Regions from separate parts of the Homo sapiens genome. Here regions 1, 2, 3 and 4 are each linked to region 5. Evidence: promoter capture Hi-C in 16 types of primary human blood cells and fetal thymus (Javierre and others, 2016). All regions are on one chromosome and are shown on one strand. The core of a region is centred on a gene start or on the middle of the fragment in contact, and the rest is flanking DNA. Distances in the headings are between cores, read along the strand shown. Region 1 overlaps CD274 (CD274 molecule). Region 2 holds the start of PLGRKT (plasminogen receptor with a C-terminal lysine). Region 3 overlaps INCR1 (interferon stimulated noncoding RNA 1). Region 4 overlaps INCR1 (interferon stimulated noncoding RNA 1). Region 5 holds the start of CDC37L1 (cell division cycle 37 like 1, HSP90 cochaperone).

Region 1 (2,700 bases), core at 101-2,600, 780 kb after region 5:
GTAAATATATGTATAACAGAAGAGGGAGAAAATATTAATAAATGCACAGATTGGCTGAAATAGAGTATAAATCTTTTACTCCCCTACTTCAACATAAACTGCAAAAGGAGAGTGACTTTTCTTTCACTCTGACTTCCGTATTCCTCATGCTTAAAATAGTGCCTAGCACAGAAGAGGTGCTCAATCAGTGTTTGCTAAACGAAATAATTAGTCACATTTCAAGCAGGATGACTAAATGAAGAATAGAATCTAGGCAGATACTCTGGAAGAGTGGCTGTGAGTCATTCATATCTTAGTATGAATTAGTCAAATCCAACTCTCTCCCCTTCCCACTCCCCACTGTTAGTAGAAGAATCTGTTTATTGAGAGAATAGATTTATAATTTAGAATAAGTGAGAGGGGCAGAAGAGGAGATTTTGAAGGATGGCACCTGAAGGAGGACTAGCATGGCTGAGACAGTGAAGTGGAAGCCTTGAATAGCTAAAGGGTAAGATGAAAGTATTTAGCTGTAGGGGGAAAAAGCATTGACAGGTTGGAAAAGTAAAAGTCAGATTCTCCTTGCTCTGAAATTTTGTACAGGGCAGGTTCTACTAGGTATGTTACAATGCAGAAAAAACATGAAATAATTGAGAGGAATTTGGTGCAATATTATCTTCTTGGCTTCTTTTGAGTGGGCAGATTTTTTTCACGGCCTGTAACTATAATAAATTTGAAACTTCTCATCTTTTAGTAACTTTTTTCACTTAAGTTTATGTGGCTGTGGGCAATGGAATGAAGATATTGAACTTCCAATTCCCTGTTGGGTTTCCACAATTACAAGTCAATCATGACTGGTTATTAGAAGACTATTTCAGTTAGAACCACCAAGTCCCATATTGTCATATTGTATGTTTAATTATTAAGTGAAGCAGTCTTCTTTTCGTGTTTTCCATAATTAGGGCATTCCAGAAAGATGAGGATATTTGCTGTCTTTATATTCATGACCTACTGGCATTTGCTGAACGGTAAGACACCAAATCCTTCCATTAGGTTCTATATTTTAAATATTTTAACCATGAGTTTAAAACTAAAATGATCATTTAAAATGCATGCAATTTTCTTATAGAGAGAACATTCTATTCTTTCTTCTACTTTACACAATGGCAAAGTCTTCTTTCTACTTTACGCAATGATAAAGTTACCTGTGTCATTTTGTAAAAATATAGAGAATATAGACAAATTGAAAGACACAAAATAATCTATTACCCATTTCCCAGGGTTAACTACTGAAAATATCTGGGGAAATGGCCTGTATGTATACATTTATTTGTTTGCTTTCAACAAGGCCAAGATCCTTTGATCTTTCAGTCTTGGTTGCTCTGTGACATGCCTTTCCTGATGAGGATACTTTAAGGAAGAATTGTAAGATACATGGAAAATGTCAGGCTAACACAGTACTGGCATCACCCTGTGCTCTTTCCTGAACTCCATACCAATGTACTTCTTGCCAGAAAACTGATCAAAAGTTTAGGGAAGTAAAAAGAGATGACTGTTAGAATCTACCATTCCCTCTATGTAGGAAGCAAATAGGTGTCCTGTCAAAGGACATTCTGGGGATGTCTACATGAAACCAAGTCTCCCTGGTTGTAAGGACTCCATCTCCATATAATATTTATACAGTAATATATGTTTATAAATTGTGGGGGCAACTTGTTTAGCTAATTTTATTATTCTGCTATTGGGACACTGTGTCTCAGCATGAGATATAGTGTCCCAAAACATATTTCAAGCCCATTGGATAAAATATGTGTTTAGCAAGTTCTTAAATATAATGATAACATAACCGACCAGATAAAGTGATTTATAAACGCTGTGCCAATTTTGTAAATGTTTCGAGGAATTTTCCCTTTTCTGAAGATTGTCCTTCTTTCTTTTTAGCATTTACTGTCACGGTTCCCAAGGACCTATATGTGGTAGAGTATGGTAGCAATATGACAATTGAATGCAAATTCCCAGTAGAAAAACAATTAGACCTGGCTGCACTAATTGTCTATTGGGAAATGGAGGATAAGAACATTATTCAATTTGTGCATGGAGAGGAAGACCTGAAGGTTCAGCATAGTAGCTACAGACAGAGGGCCCGGCTGTTGAAGGACCAGCTCTCCCTGGGAAATGCTGCACTTCAGATCACAGATGTGAAATTGCAGGATGCAGGGGTGTACCGCTGCATGATCAGCTATGGTGGTGCCGACTACAAGCGAATTACTGTGAAAGTCAATGGTAAGAATTATTATAGATGAGAGGCCTGATCTTTATTGAAAACATATTCCAAGTGTTGAAGACTTTTCATTCTTGTAAGTCCATACTTATTTTCAAACAGAACAGCATAGTCTGTTCATTCATTCATTCAATTCATGAATTCATTCACATAATTATCCAATTTCTTGAGCACCTATTTGATAGTCACTGGAAATCCAGAGACAAACAACACAGAGCCATGTTCTACAGTATGTACAGTTTTCCAAAAAGAATTTCTAGTCTTTACTTTTTTATTACAAATGGAATACGTATACTTGCAAATAATTCAGATACTGTGGAAGAGATCAAATGAATTGCAAAAGTGTCCCTCCTCCCTTCACCACTATCTCCCATGGCATGCAGAGAGAGTAACCATTATTTGTGTGTCCCTCCAGAAATTTTTTTATTCAACTACTATTTTTT
Region 2 (2,700 bases), core at 191-2,690, 760 kb after region 5:
TAGGATCTCCCCTGAAAAGAGAGAGTCCTCATGTCAATCATCTGGGAAAGAAACACTGTCTGGGAAGTTAGTATTTAGATTTACCTCTTTCTGGGCCTTGCTCTCCTGGGTCTGGACTTGTAGTCTGAATGTGTTAGAGGACGCTCCCAGGTGGAAGGGTTAAAGGTGGAAGCCAAGCAGGAAGAAGAGCTTCCTTATGGGAAACCACACCTGAGAATAAATAAATGCATCACACCTTGTAAATTTCACCCTGGAGTTCAGTATTTTCAACATTCTTTCCTTTCCCAACTTCCCCATTCCTGGCAAAGTCATTTCCCAAAGTCTGGGAATATTCCGTAGGGTGTCCAGAACACTTTCAGCTATCTCCTCTTGCTCACAAAATATGTATCAGAAAATAAGCAAAATTGACCTTGCAATAGGGATAACTTTGATTTCACTCACTTGTATAAGTTAAGTCTTTTAAAAATTCTAACACTTTTCACCAGGGGTAAAAAAAAATGTCTTGCTACTTATACAATTTTAAACATCACTGTGTCTCAGAGTGATGTTTTGCAGAGAATGCTGATTTCAATCCCTCTGTCTTCATTTTCCCTTTGATTCCTTCTGAGATCTTGGAAGGGGTCTTTAATGCTTCAGCCCTGCCTCAGGTGAGCTATAGATTACTATGGGAAGGTGTATTTCTGGGGAGGAGAAGTGGTGCCTGCAAGTTCCAGACAACCTTTCTTCCGGTCACCCGTGAGTACCTAGATTTGATTTTACTTGGGGGGACATAAAAAATTAATTGCATGAATTCTGTCATCGGGATTACCACGCTGACTTATTTCCCGATCAGATGACACATTGCCTGAATGTATGACTGATCGTCTCACCACAGTCATTTTCAATATTTGCATCCCATTGAAATTAAGCCACATCCCCTTGCAAATTCCAGCCCAGAGCCCACAGCTTCCGGAGGTTTTCTGTAATTAACACCGCCCTTGCTCCCTGAGGCCAGTTACTGTAATTTAGGTATTCCCCGCAATAGTGTGCTGATTTCTGTTGAGAGCACTGTGCCTGTTTTTCTCAACTCTATTTTAAAGCTACGGAGAGATCCGGAGTCCACGCCAGGCGACAAGAACGCGCTCTAATGGAACGAAGTTGGCAATACCTATCAGCACCAGGGGCAGTGCGAGAGCCAAGAGCCGGCGCTCACGAGGAGCGGGCGCCCAGCGCTGCCTGGCAAGCCCGGAGCCCAGGAGATCGCGCTGACTGACATGGCCGGGCTGACCCTTCTCCCCACCCGCCTGCGGCCGGTGTTCACTCACTGGGCGGCGCTGGTGCCGGGACCAGGCGACCGGTACGCAAACCTCCAGGCCCGGGCTCCTTTCGCCCGCTGCAGGGACCGGGCCTCGCTCCGCCCAGCGTCGGGATTGGCGCCCAGACACAGTAGATGACGCACCTCAGCCAATTCGCGCAGCCCTCAGCTTCTTTAAAGAGCCGGCACTTCCGCCAGAAGCCGGGTGTGTCCTTCCGGGCCAGGCTCAGTGTTACCAGAGGTGGGAGGGGAAGGTCAAAAGAGGCAAATTCAAAGCCGCGGCGACTCAGCTGCCAGATTTTTGAGATGAGGCAGAGGAAGCGGAGTGGAATTCTCAATTAAAGGCCTCTGTCCCCTCATCTGTTAAATTGGCACTATTAAAAAGTCATAAAGATAAGACAGAAACGAGAAAGAAGAGAATTGACTGAAATTACCCATTCTTTTTTGAACAGAGCCGTCTTTCTCCCCTGCTGCTCAGAGAGATGTCGGTCTCGCCTCAACCTCACCAGCAATTTCTATCTTGAATAAGCCACGTCTCTCTCCCAGCCTGAGAGAATGCTTGAATTGTTGGCACTCTGTTCTTTGCTACCAAATGGCTTGGAAAAATAGCATGAACGTCACCAGTCTCTGGCCTTCAGGAAAGTCCCTGCTAACCACCACAGCGGTGGAGAAGGCGTCTAACTTTCTCCAGGCTCAGCGTGTGAGTGCACACCGCCCTGACCTCCTGGGCGCGTCTTGATGCTCTCAACAGCAGCCCTCAGGATTCTGGACTGTGGGTCCCACATTCCAGATACCATTTGTGGAATGGCTGGATGAGAAAATTGCAACAGCACCCTCATTTCCAGTTAAGGGAATGGGCGGGTTACCAGGAGGTTTGACACTCTTGAAGGGAGGTTAACAACTGATGCAAGAAGTAAGGAATCGTGTTTGAGTGCACAGACTCTAGCATAAACACACCTACCTTCAATTTCTAGCTCTGTCACTGTCACTCTGAATTTATCACCTCTGCAACAGGACTAAAGCCATCTAATTTATTGGATTGTGAGGACTAAAAGATAATATATGTGGGCATTTAGCACAGTGTCGGGCACATAGTTCGCCTTCCGTAACCAGTAGTAACCAGTAACAGCGGGGAGCTGTTAGTAACTATAGGGCTGAGGGGTGGGGGAAGGAAGCAGTTACTAAAACCAGGCGAGAGCGAGAGCGGTAGCTGTGGCTGTACGAGAGAGTAACCAACTGGAACCGTGTCGTTCAGTAGAGGAAAGCAAGCAATGCCAACTTTTCACCAAGTAAGGTGAGATTCTATAGTTGTAGCCAGTGCTGAGACGTCAGCCCAAAGCAGGGACAGAGTGGAGAAGACCCACCTCTCTGTTCTCCCAGCTCTGATATCCAGCTGGGGTCTTCCG
Region 3 (2,700 bases), core at 71-2,570, 910 kb after region 5:
GGAGGCTGACGCAGGGGAATTGCTTGAGCCTGGGAGGAGGAACTTCCAGTGAGCTGAGATCACGCCACTGCACTCCAGCCTGGGCGACAGAGCAAGACTCCATCTCAAAAAAAAATTTTTTTAAGTTTACAAAGCATTTTCAAATGTCTTGTTATACTAGTTGAGCCTCACTACCACCTGGTAAAGGGAGTAGAACAAATATTCACATTTTATGGATGAGGAAACTTGGGCTTATAGAAGTTAAGTAACTTGCCTAATTTATCCCATTTCTTTTTCAGTAAAGTTACCAGTTTGGGCTGGGCATGGTGGCTTACACTTGTAATCCTAGCACTTTGGGAGGCTGAGGCAGGCAGATGGCTTGAGCTCAGGAGTTCAAGACCAGCCTGGGCAACATGGCAAAACCCTATCTCTACAAAAAATACAAAAATTACCCAGGTGTGATGGTGCACGCCTGCAGTCCCAGCTACTGGGGAGGCTGAGGTGGGAGGATCGACTGAGCCCAGGAGGTTGAGGCTGCAGTAAGTTGTGAATACACCACCACACTCTAGCCTAGGAAACAGAATGAGACCCTGTCTCAAAAAGAAAAAAAAAAAGTTACCAGTTTGGTAGCTTAGGGAGTTACAAGTTTGGTAGCTCATGGAGTTGCCATAGACATAGAATATATTGATTTTTAATCACAGCACACAACAAGATGTACATTTATATCCTTGTGAGTAAGTGAATATGGTTGAGAGAAGAGGTTAGGTTGACAAAGCAACTACTAAAAAATTGTCTTTTTCCCTCTGTCTTATGGGTAACTTGGATGAAAACATAGAAGATGAGCTTATAATATATGATGATTAATAAAGTAGGGAGAGAGAGTCAGTTGGATAGAAGAGTTTCTATTTCAAAATCCCAGGTTGCCACAGTGGCTCACACCTGTAATCTCAGCATTTTAGGAGGCCGAGGCGGGCAGATCACTTGAGGTCAGGAGTTCAATACCAGCCTGGGCAACATAGCAAAACTCCATCTCTACAAAAAATACAAAGATTAGCCAGGTGTGGTAGTGTGTGCCTGTGATCCCTGCTAATTGGGAGGCTGAGGTGGGAGGATCGCTTGAGCCCGGGAGGTTGAGGCTGCAGTGAGCCAAGATTGTACCACTGCACTCCAGCCTGTACAACAGCATGACGCCCTGCCTCAAAAAATAAAAATAAAAAATAAAAAAATTAAGTCCCAGGTTGAATCACGAGGTCAAAACCAAAGAGGTAGAATGAAAGGTCCTGCTTTTGATCCACACACCTAAGATGGAAGAGCAGTTTATTAGCAGTTAATATGAAAAAGTTCTGGGGATTTAATAGAAAAGAATTTAAACAGTATCATACTCATAAACTACAAATGTGCCCTAAGTACAAATGCAGGTTGAATTGAAATCCAATTGCTTAAAAACTAAGGAGGTTGGGCATGGTGGTTCATGCCTATAATCCCAGCCCATTAAGAGGCCAAGGCAGGTGGATCACTTGAGCCCAGGAGTTTGAGACCAGCCTGGGCAACATGGCGAAACTGCGTCTCTATAAAAAATACAAAAATTAGCTGGGCGTGATGGCGCACACTTGTAGTCCCGATACTAGGGAGGCTTAGGTAGGAGGATCACCTGAGCCCAAGGAGATCAAAGCTGCAATGGGCCATGACCTCACCACTGCACTCCAGCCTAGGCAACAAAGTGAGACCCTGTCTCAAAACAAAACAAAAACACTAAGGAGAACTTCAGCAGTGTTGACAGGACACTGTTCAGAACTGGGAACAAATAGTCCTATGGAACCTACTATGTCTAGGCCAGCCTACCTCTAGAATATTTTGTTCTATTCTGGGCCCGACTTGTTAATTGGGACATGAATAAATGAGAGTAGATCTAGAGGGAAGCACCCAAGATGGCAATCGGGCTTGAAGCCACCCCTAGACTAGGAATATTGGAAGAAGCTGGGCGCATTTCTCCTGGAGAAGAATTATCAAGGGAAGACATGAGAGCCAAGATCAATGGGTGCAAGTTACATTGAAGAAGAATTTGGCCCAGAAATGGAAAGAATTCACTAACAACTAGAGCTGTTCATCAAAGGTTAACCTCCTGGTTCCTGGATATATCTACATAGCCTGGAGCTACCATTTTTCAGGATACTCTGGAAAGTATTCTTCCCTTAGGTGATGAATTACAAATCTTCTTACTCTAAGATCCCATAATTCTTCAAACTAGACACTTAACTCCTATGAGCCTCAGTTTCCTGAGAAGACTAAAATGAAATGGCTTGTAAATCCCCTTCCAGCTCTAACTTTCTATGAAGTACTTGGTCCTAAAGGGTACCCTCGTTTATGTTTCACAGAGATACCAGAAACAGGAGTCTTTTATCTTCAACTTGACTCTCAAGATGTTATCCTCAAGTGAACTTTTTTCTACCAGCTGAAATATGTCCTTAAAATCTTTGAGTCAATGAATCATGAAATGAGCCAGGTTTTCAAATCTCATTTGTAGGGTTCCTTAAGAACTATGTCCACTTGCCACATTCTTTTCTGAATATTATTCTTTTTTTCTTCAACCCTGTTTTTTAACCCAAACATCCTGTTTTCAAACATCCTGTTTTCAACCCTCTTTGTATCTAAGGATGGAACAAGGCTGATGACACAGACAAGAAACTTGTAAAACATAGCAAGTATCTGCCTTTTATTTGG
Region 4 (2,700 bases), core at 55-2,554, 920 kb after region 5:
GGTAACAACATTACAGAATAAAAACCATGACCCCATCACCAAATATAAGAATTAGAATATTACCAATACCTTTACATATACCCAGAGTCATAGGTAGCCCATCCAGAGCCTCTGTGCAAATTAGAAAAAAAGCTCCTCTTCTTTGGGTTGGACACAACTCTAAACCAAGGTGCCTTGCTTGCCAAACAGAACACAGGCTATATTAATTACATGACCCACTTCTGCCCTGGTGTGCTTTCAGACTTATGTAAATGGAATTCTACTGTATATATTATCCTACAAATTATCTTTTTTACTTAACATTATGTTTGTAAGATATATCAATATTGTTACATGTAGTACTCCATTTTCACTGCTGTGTAATATTTCTTTGCATGTTTACGTGCTAAAAGAATTAACTCTATATCCCACTATTTCAGTTACAGGGTATCTATTGAAGGGTGAATGTGACTAAACTAAAAGAGAAATGTAGATCACATAAAGATGGATAAAGGAACTCTGGATCTTATTTTGGGTCAGGGAAAGCCAGTGTGCTTTCATTTGATGAGAAATAATTGCATTATATTAGGCAAGAGTGAGCTGGTAAAGGAGTGAGCACAACAGTAAATGTCTGGTGTCCATGCAGTGAATATTTTACATTCACTTATTTTCTCTATGGCATTTTCTGTCCTTTAATAAGCTTTTTCACTTTAATAATGTGGAAAATACAGTAATAGTGACAATCCATGCCTATTTAAGTAATGGGAGCACAATATGTGAGCTTACTAGAGAACGGCTATGACTGAAATGGACTCTACATCTTTTCATTTGGACTTACATGCAATTTCAATGTCTTTTGCTAGCAGATGAATGTGAATTCATTGCAGTGGATTTTTTATTCAGATACAGAATATTCGGTGCAATTTTTCTAAGTCACTATAGTCAATTTTCAGATAACAAAAAGTCCAATAACTTCTAAAATAGAAGAGAGAAAAATGGAAAAAGAAAACAAACTTACAAACAAAAGCCCAACCCCAATCAACTGAGTAGAGAGCAATAAAGGAAAAGGGGGAAAGCCAAATAAAAGTTGGACAAATAAAAATTAAAAGTGTGGTGGTAGAAAATGTCTAGATATATTAATAATTATAATAAATATAAATCTAAACTTTATAGTAAAAGACAGATTGGGGAACAAACAAACAAAAAACCTCTAACTACATGCTCTTTCAAAAGAAAAACCTAAAACTTAAGACACAAAATGGTTGAAAGATGTAGCAGGAAAACAGTAACCAAAAAAACAGAAGTGTATATTAAAAATCACACAAAATAGACTGATGAAAATAGGTATCGTTAGAGTTAGAGAGGGACCACTACTTGATTTTTATAAACGTTCCAATTGTCAGTGATATAATAACTTCAAAGTTTTACACCTAGAAAAATTGTTTCAAATATATAAAGCAAATATTTACTGAACTACAAAGAGAAATTGCCAATGAGAGCTTTCAATATATCTCTCTCAATTACCAACAGACCACCCAAAGCAAAGATATTAAAAATATGGAAGATCTGAACAACACAATTAATAACAATCAAATAGATAAAAATTCTGCATCCAACAGTTGGCAAATGCACTTATTTTTCTTAAATATCATAGTGCAATTACAAAAATTGTCCATTTATTAGACCATATGGCAAGTCTCACAAAATTATAACACAGTCCTCATTCTCTGTGCGCAAAGTAATTAAGTTAGAGGCAATAACAAAAGATAAATCTATAAAAGTTCTTATATATTGAAAAATGTGGAAACACACTTGTAGGTAATTCATGTGTCAAAGAAAAAATTATGGAAGAAATGTAAAAATCCTAAAAGCCGAATGATAATGAAAATATCACCTACCATGTTCTGTAAAACAGTCAAAGTCATTCTCTAAGGACAATTTATTAATTTGAAAGCTTGTTTCAGACAAGAAGAAAGGTTAAAAATTAATGAGCTTTGTGTTCAACTCAAGAAATTAGGAGGAAAAATAGAAAAACAATCAAAGTAGGAGGAAATAGATAACAGAGATAAAAACAGAGGTTCAGAAAAAAGTAAACAAAGCTACAAAAAAAGAATCCACAAAATTAAAAGTTTTATTTTATAAACAGAACAATCTCTGCTGAGATTGAGCGAGGAAAAAAAAAGAAGGCACAAATAAGCAATATTAGAATAAAAAGGGACCTAATCACAGACAAGGCAAAGATTTTTTTAGATGAGCTACTCTGAATCAATTTAGGCCACATATTCAAAAACTTAGGTGAAATGGGCAAATTCCTAGAAAACTATAATTTACCAAAACTTACTCAAAAACAGAGAACCTGAATTGTTTTGTATCTACCAAAGAAATGCAATCAATATTTTTAAATCTTCCCACAAAGAAAATATTTAGTTCAGATATGTTTACAAATTACTTACACCTAGGTTTCAAGAACGAGATCATTCCAATCTTTAAAAATGTCCTATAAAACAGAAAAAGAGGGACTATGACACAATTCACTCAATGATATTAACGTAACCTTGATAGCAAAACCAAAGAAGGACAGGACAATAAAGAAACCTTTTGAACCAATCTCACTCATAAACATAGCTACAAATTCAAATTAAATACTAATGAAACAAGCTTAGGAGTTTATTTCAAATAGATAATACATCATAAACAAGTTGAGTTTAACCAGAAATGCAA
Region 5 (2,700 bases), core at 98-2,597:
AGAAGCTTTCCTTCCTAGGCTCACCCACCAGAGGTAATCATTAACAGTTTCTTGCATATCCTCCAGGAATGTTCTGCGCAAACACACACACACACACACACACACACACACACACACACGGACGCAAACAAATACCATCCCTCTCTCTTCTCTCTCTGTATACGTACGCATATGTTTAATTCTGCAAGTTGCTTTGTTTAAAACTCAATACCTTTTGGAGGTATTTATATATCAGCATATTCAGATACAATTTACTTTTTTTAAAAAGGGTAATATGCCATTGTATTAATATTCCATACTTTAAGTTCCTCTATCGATGGACAATTAGAATGCTTTTTTTTTTCTTGCCACACACACACAAAAATTGCTGCCAGAAATCTTTGTAGTAAATCTTTGGATATTGGTGCAAAAATAATTGTTGCATACTTTCTTAGTGGTGAAATTGCTGAATCAATCCGCTCAAGCCTCTCATATTGTCAAATTACTCCTCCTAAAAGGTTATACTAATGACATTCTCACATCATTTCCTTACATCTTGGTACACATTTGGTATTAAGCGACTTCACAAGTTTGCCAGTCTAAACACATGGAAAAAAATGGCGTCATGTTGTTTTTATTTGGGTCTCTTTATGAGTAGGGCAGCAAGACCTGATTGTTAAACGTTCAAGTTTTGAAGTTAAACTCCCTGGGTCTGGATCCTACTTCTTCCTTGTAAAATGTGTGATCTCGGGCATGCTGGGTCTACTTCCTCGTCTCAAAAAAAGAGGATAAAGAGAGTACATATCTTTAGGCTTAAACAAGATACGCAGGCATACAGGAAGCCCTTCTTATGCGTTCGCTACTAGCGGTACTGATCCTAATTTTTTTGAAGCCGTGCCGGCTCCGGTACTTTATTTTTGGTGTGCTCCTCCAACCAACCAAGTTTCGCAGAATTCTGTTGTTGCCTGTAATTAGAAATGAGACGAAAATTGGCTCCGCTTGTTCAAAATTCTCCTCCCTCCGCCCCAACTCTGCCTTAGAATCACTGGTTTAAATGTCAATGTAAAGGAATGAGTTGCAATTTTTAAGCAACATGTAAAGTGCACACCTGGTCTGAGTACCTCCCGGCGGCCAGGACCCGCCGTTTTCGGTATAGGGAACACCAGATAACAATATATAACGCTACCTAACAAACGTTTCTCCACCCACAGCGCCATTAGCGGTTAGGTTTGCAGTGCCGAAGAGCTGCAAGAAAACGGGGCTTGAAACAGGAATACAATTGCAGATCCACCCACTACACGCAAAGGGCCCGGGACGCGCCTCCACAGCCCCGCCCCAACCGGAAGTGACGCACCGCGCCGACTATTTCTTCCGCCGTCCGCCGGTGGCGAGGCCCAGGCTGTCGCCGGGTGTGCAGCGGCGTCGCGGCCAGTAGAGGGATTCTGGGTAACGGCCCGGACCCCCGGCTGGGCTTCTGGCTCGGCGCAGCAGGTTCCATTCACGCCAAGTCTGTTGGCAGTGGCAGTTGTAGGGCCAAGGGCGGTTGTAGGACCCGGAGCAGCCGGACATGGAACAACCGTGGCCGCCTCCGGGACCCTGGAGCCTCCCTCGGGCCGAGGGTGAGGCTGAGGAAGAGAGTGACTTCGACGTGTTCCCCAGTTCTCCCCGCTGCCCGCAGCTGCCAGGCGGCGGCGCCCAGGTGAGAAGGGGCCTGCGTTCTGCGGAGGGATGGAGTGGTGCTGTCGCCAAACCCCTGGAATGCCGCGTCTCCCAGACCCTCTTCTACGCCTTTTTCTACGCCCACCTCACTGCCAGGGGCCGGGGACCTGGGACCTGACGCCTGATGCCATCCCACCCCTTTTATGGCATCTTCGGAGGGCAGACGGGGTGGCCATATATTACCAACCTCCACCTCCACGCACATGTTTTCTTTCGCCTTGGCTGATTCCTGTTCACTCTTGGAATACCTTCCTCCATCTCCCCTTCCTGACAGCACTCAGATTTGGGGCGGCTCATGCTGTAACATTGACCCTTTGTCCTCTTGTGAGAGGTTTTCCCCAAGCACTTTATTCTGTTAAAGGCTCTAGCATACTTGTGCACAGTTGCTAGGAACAGTGAATGATTGTAGTTCAGCATCACACTGAGTCCTGACAAAGATTTCACATGCGATTTTCACCGATGTTGACAACTGAGTAAATTCTTTAAATCTCGCTTTTGACGCTGGCGTACACCTCTCCCATTCGCGTGACCATCTTTGCCTTACTGTTTTGTTTTTTAGTTTTGCTTCACGTCATTCTCCAGTGAAAATATATACGCATATACTTGTGTTTTCCTTCAGACTTCTCTTAGGTTCCTGGTATTGTGTTTTCAATCCAGCATTCCTGCCTTCCTGCGACTGAAACGTATCCAAATGTGATATACTATTAAGGATTTTTCAGGGACCTATCTTAGGGGATACTTACATACTCGCATCACCTTGTCCTGTTTTTTTCTCCGAATCCGTGTGTGTTTTGGAAGTATATTTCAGAATCACAGACTAAACACTAATATATTCAATGGATCATAAGTGTCTGCCGCCTTCTTGCAAAATGGGGTTCCCAAGAGTGTAACAGATTTAATAGTAGTTTTCCTCTCAACTTATTTTGCTAGATGTTAATGAGAATGAGTTAAATTGCTTACCAGTAAGCGTGACATTATCAATCTTATGTCCAGCTAACAGGG

What was found. The method cuts DNA at HindIII sites, captures the fragments that hold promoters and counts their contacts. A CHiCAGO score of 5 or more calls a contact.
Region 1: a contact is called between a fragment that was not itself captured here and the fragment with the promoter of CDC37L1 in region 5, in 1 of 17 cell types (neutrophils). The highest score is 6.1, in neutrophils.
Region 2: a contact is called between the fragment with the promoter of PLGRKT here and the fragment with the promoter of CDC37L1 in region 5, in 5 of 17 cell types (monocytes, erythroblasts, neutrophils and 2 more). The highest score is 9.4, in monocytes.
Region 3: a fragment that was not itself captured here is called in contact with the fragment with the promoter of CDC37L1 in region 5 in 1 of 17 cell types (neutrophils); the score reaches 6.3 in neutrophils.
Region 4: a contact is called between a fragment that was not itself captured here and the fragment with the promoter of CDC37L1 in region 5, in 1 of 17 cell types (monocytes). The highest score is 5.0, in monocytes.

Annotation. Positions count from the first base shown.
Region 1 is chr9:5,455,162-5,457,861 of GRCh38, forward strand. CD274 (CD274 molecule) reads left to right here. Exons shown (of 7, transcript NM_014143.4): 2 at 939-1,004; 3 at 1,918-2,259. The coding sequence starts at 953. It overlaps INCR1 (interferon stimulated noncoding RNA 1), which reads right to left. Exons shown (of 3, transcript XR_007061406.1): 3 at 2,270-2,700. Among named protein-coding and RNA genes, the nearest start is that of CD274, 6.0 kb to the left of the region's middle. The HindIII fragment of the contact is 5,729 bases long and covers 1-2,700 here.
Region 2 is chr9:5,436,485-5,439,184 of GRCh38, forward strand. It overlaps PLGRKT (plasminogen receptor with a C-terminal lysine), which reads right to left and starts at 1,441. Exons shown (of 6, transcript NM_018465.4): 1 at 1,305-1,441; 2 at 85-210. RefSeq lists enhancers at 743-1,942, 998-1,087, 2,648-2,700. The HindIII fragment of the contact is 16,310 bases long and covers 1-2,700 here.
Region 3 is chr9:5,583,881-5,586,580 of GRCh38, forward strand. The region is part of intron 1 of INCR1 (interferon stimulated noncoding RNA 1); the gene reads right to left. Among named protein-coding and RNA genes, the nearest start is that of RIC1, 44 kb to the right of the region's middle. The HindIII fragment of the contact is 4,973 bases long and covers 1-2,700 here.
Region 4 is chr9:5,602,460-5,605,159 of GRCh38, forward strand. All of the region lies in intron 1 of INCR1 (interferon stimulated noncoding RNA 1), which reads right to left. Among named protein-coding and RNA genes, the nearest start is that of RIC1, 25 kb to the right of the region's middle. The HindIII fragment of the contact is 1,254 bases long and covers 678-1,931 here.
Region 5 is chr9:4,678,222-4,680,921 of GRCh38, forward strand. CDC37L1 (cell division cycle 37 like 1, HSP90 cochaperone) reads left to right here and starts at 1,348. Exons shown (of 7, transcript NM_017913.4): 1 at 1,348-1,678. The coding sequence starts at 1,547. It overlaps CDC37L1-DT (CDC37L1 divergent transcript), which reads right to left and starts at 1,259. Exons shown (of 2, transcript NR_121598.1): 1 at 1,166-1,259. RefSeq lists an enhancer at 1,482-1,571. The HindIII fragment of the contact is 3,086 bases long and covers 4-2,700 here.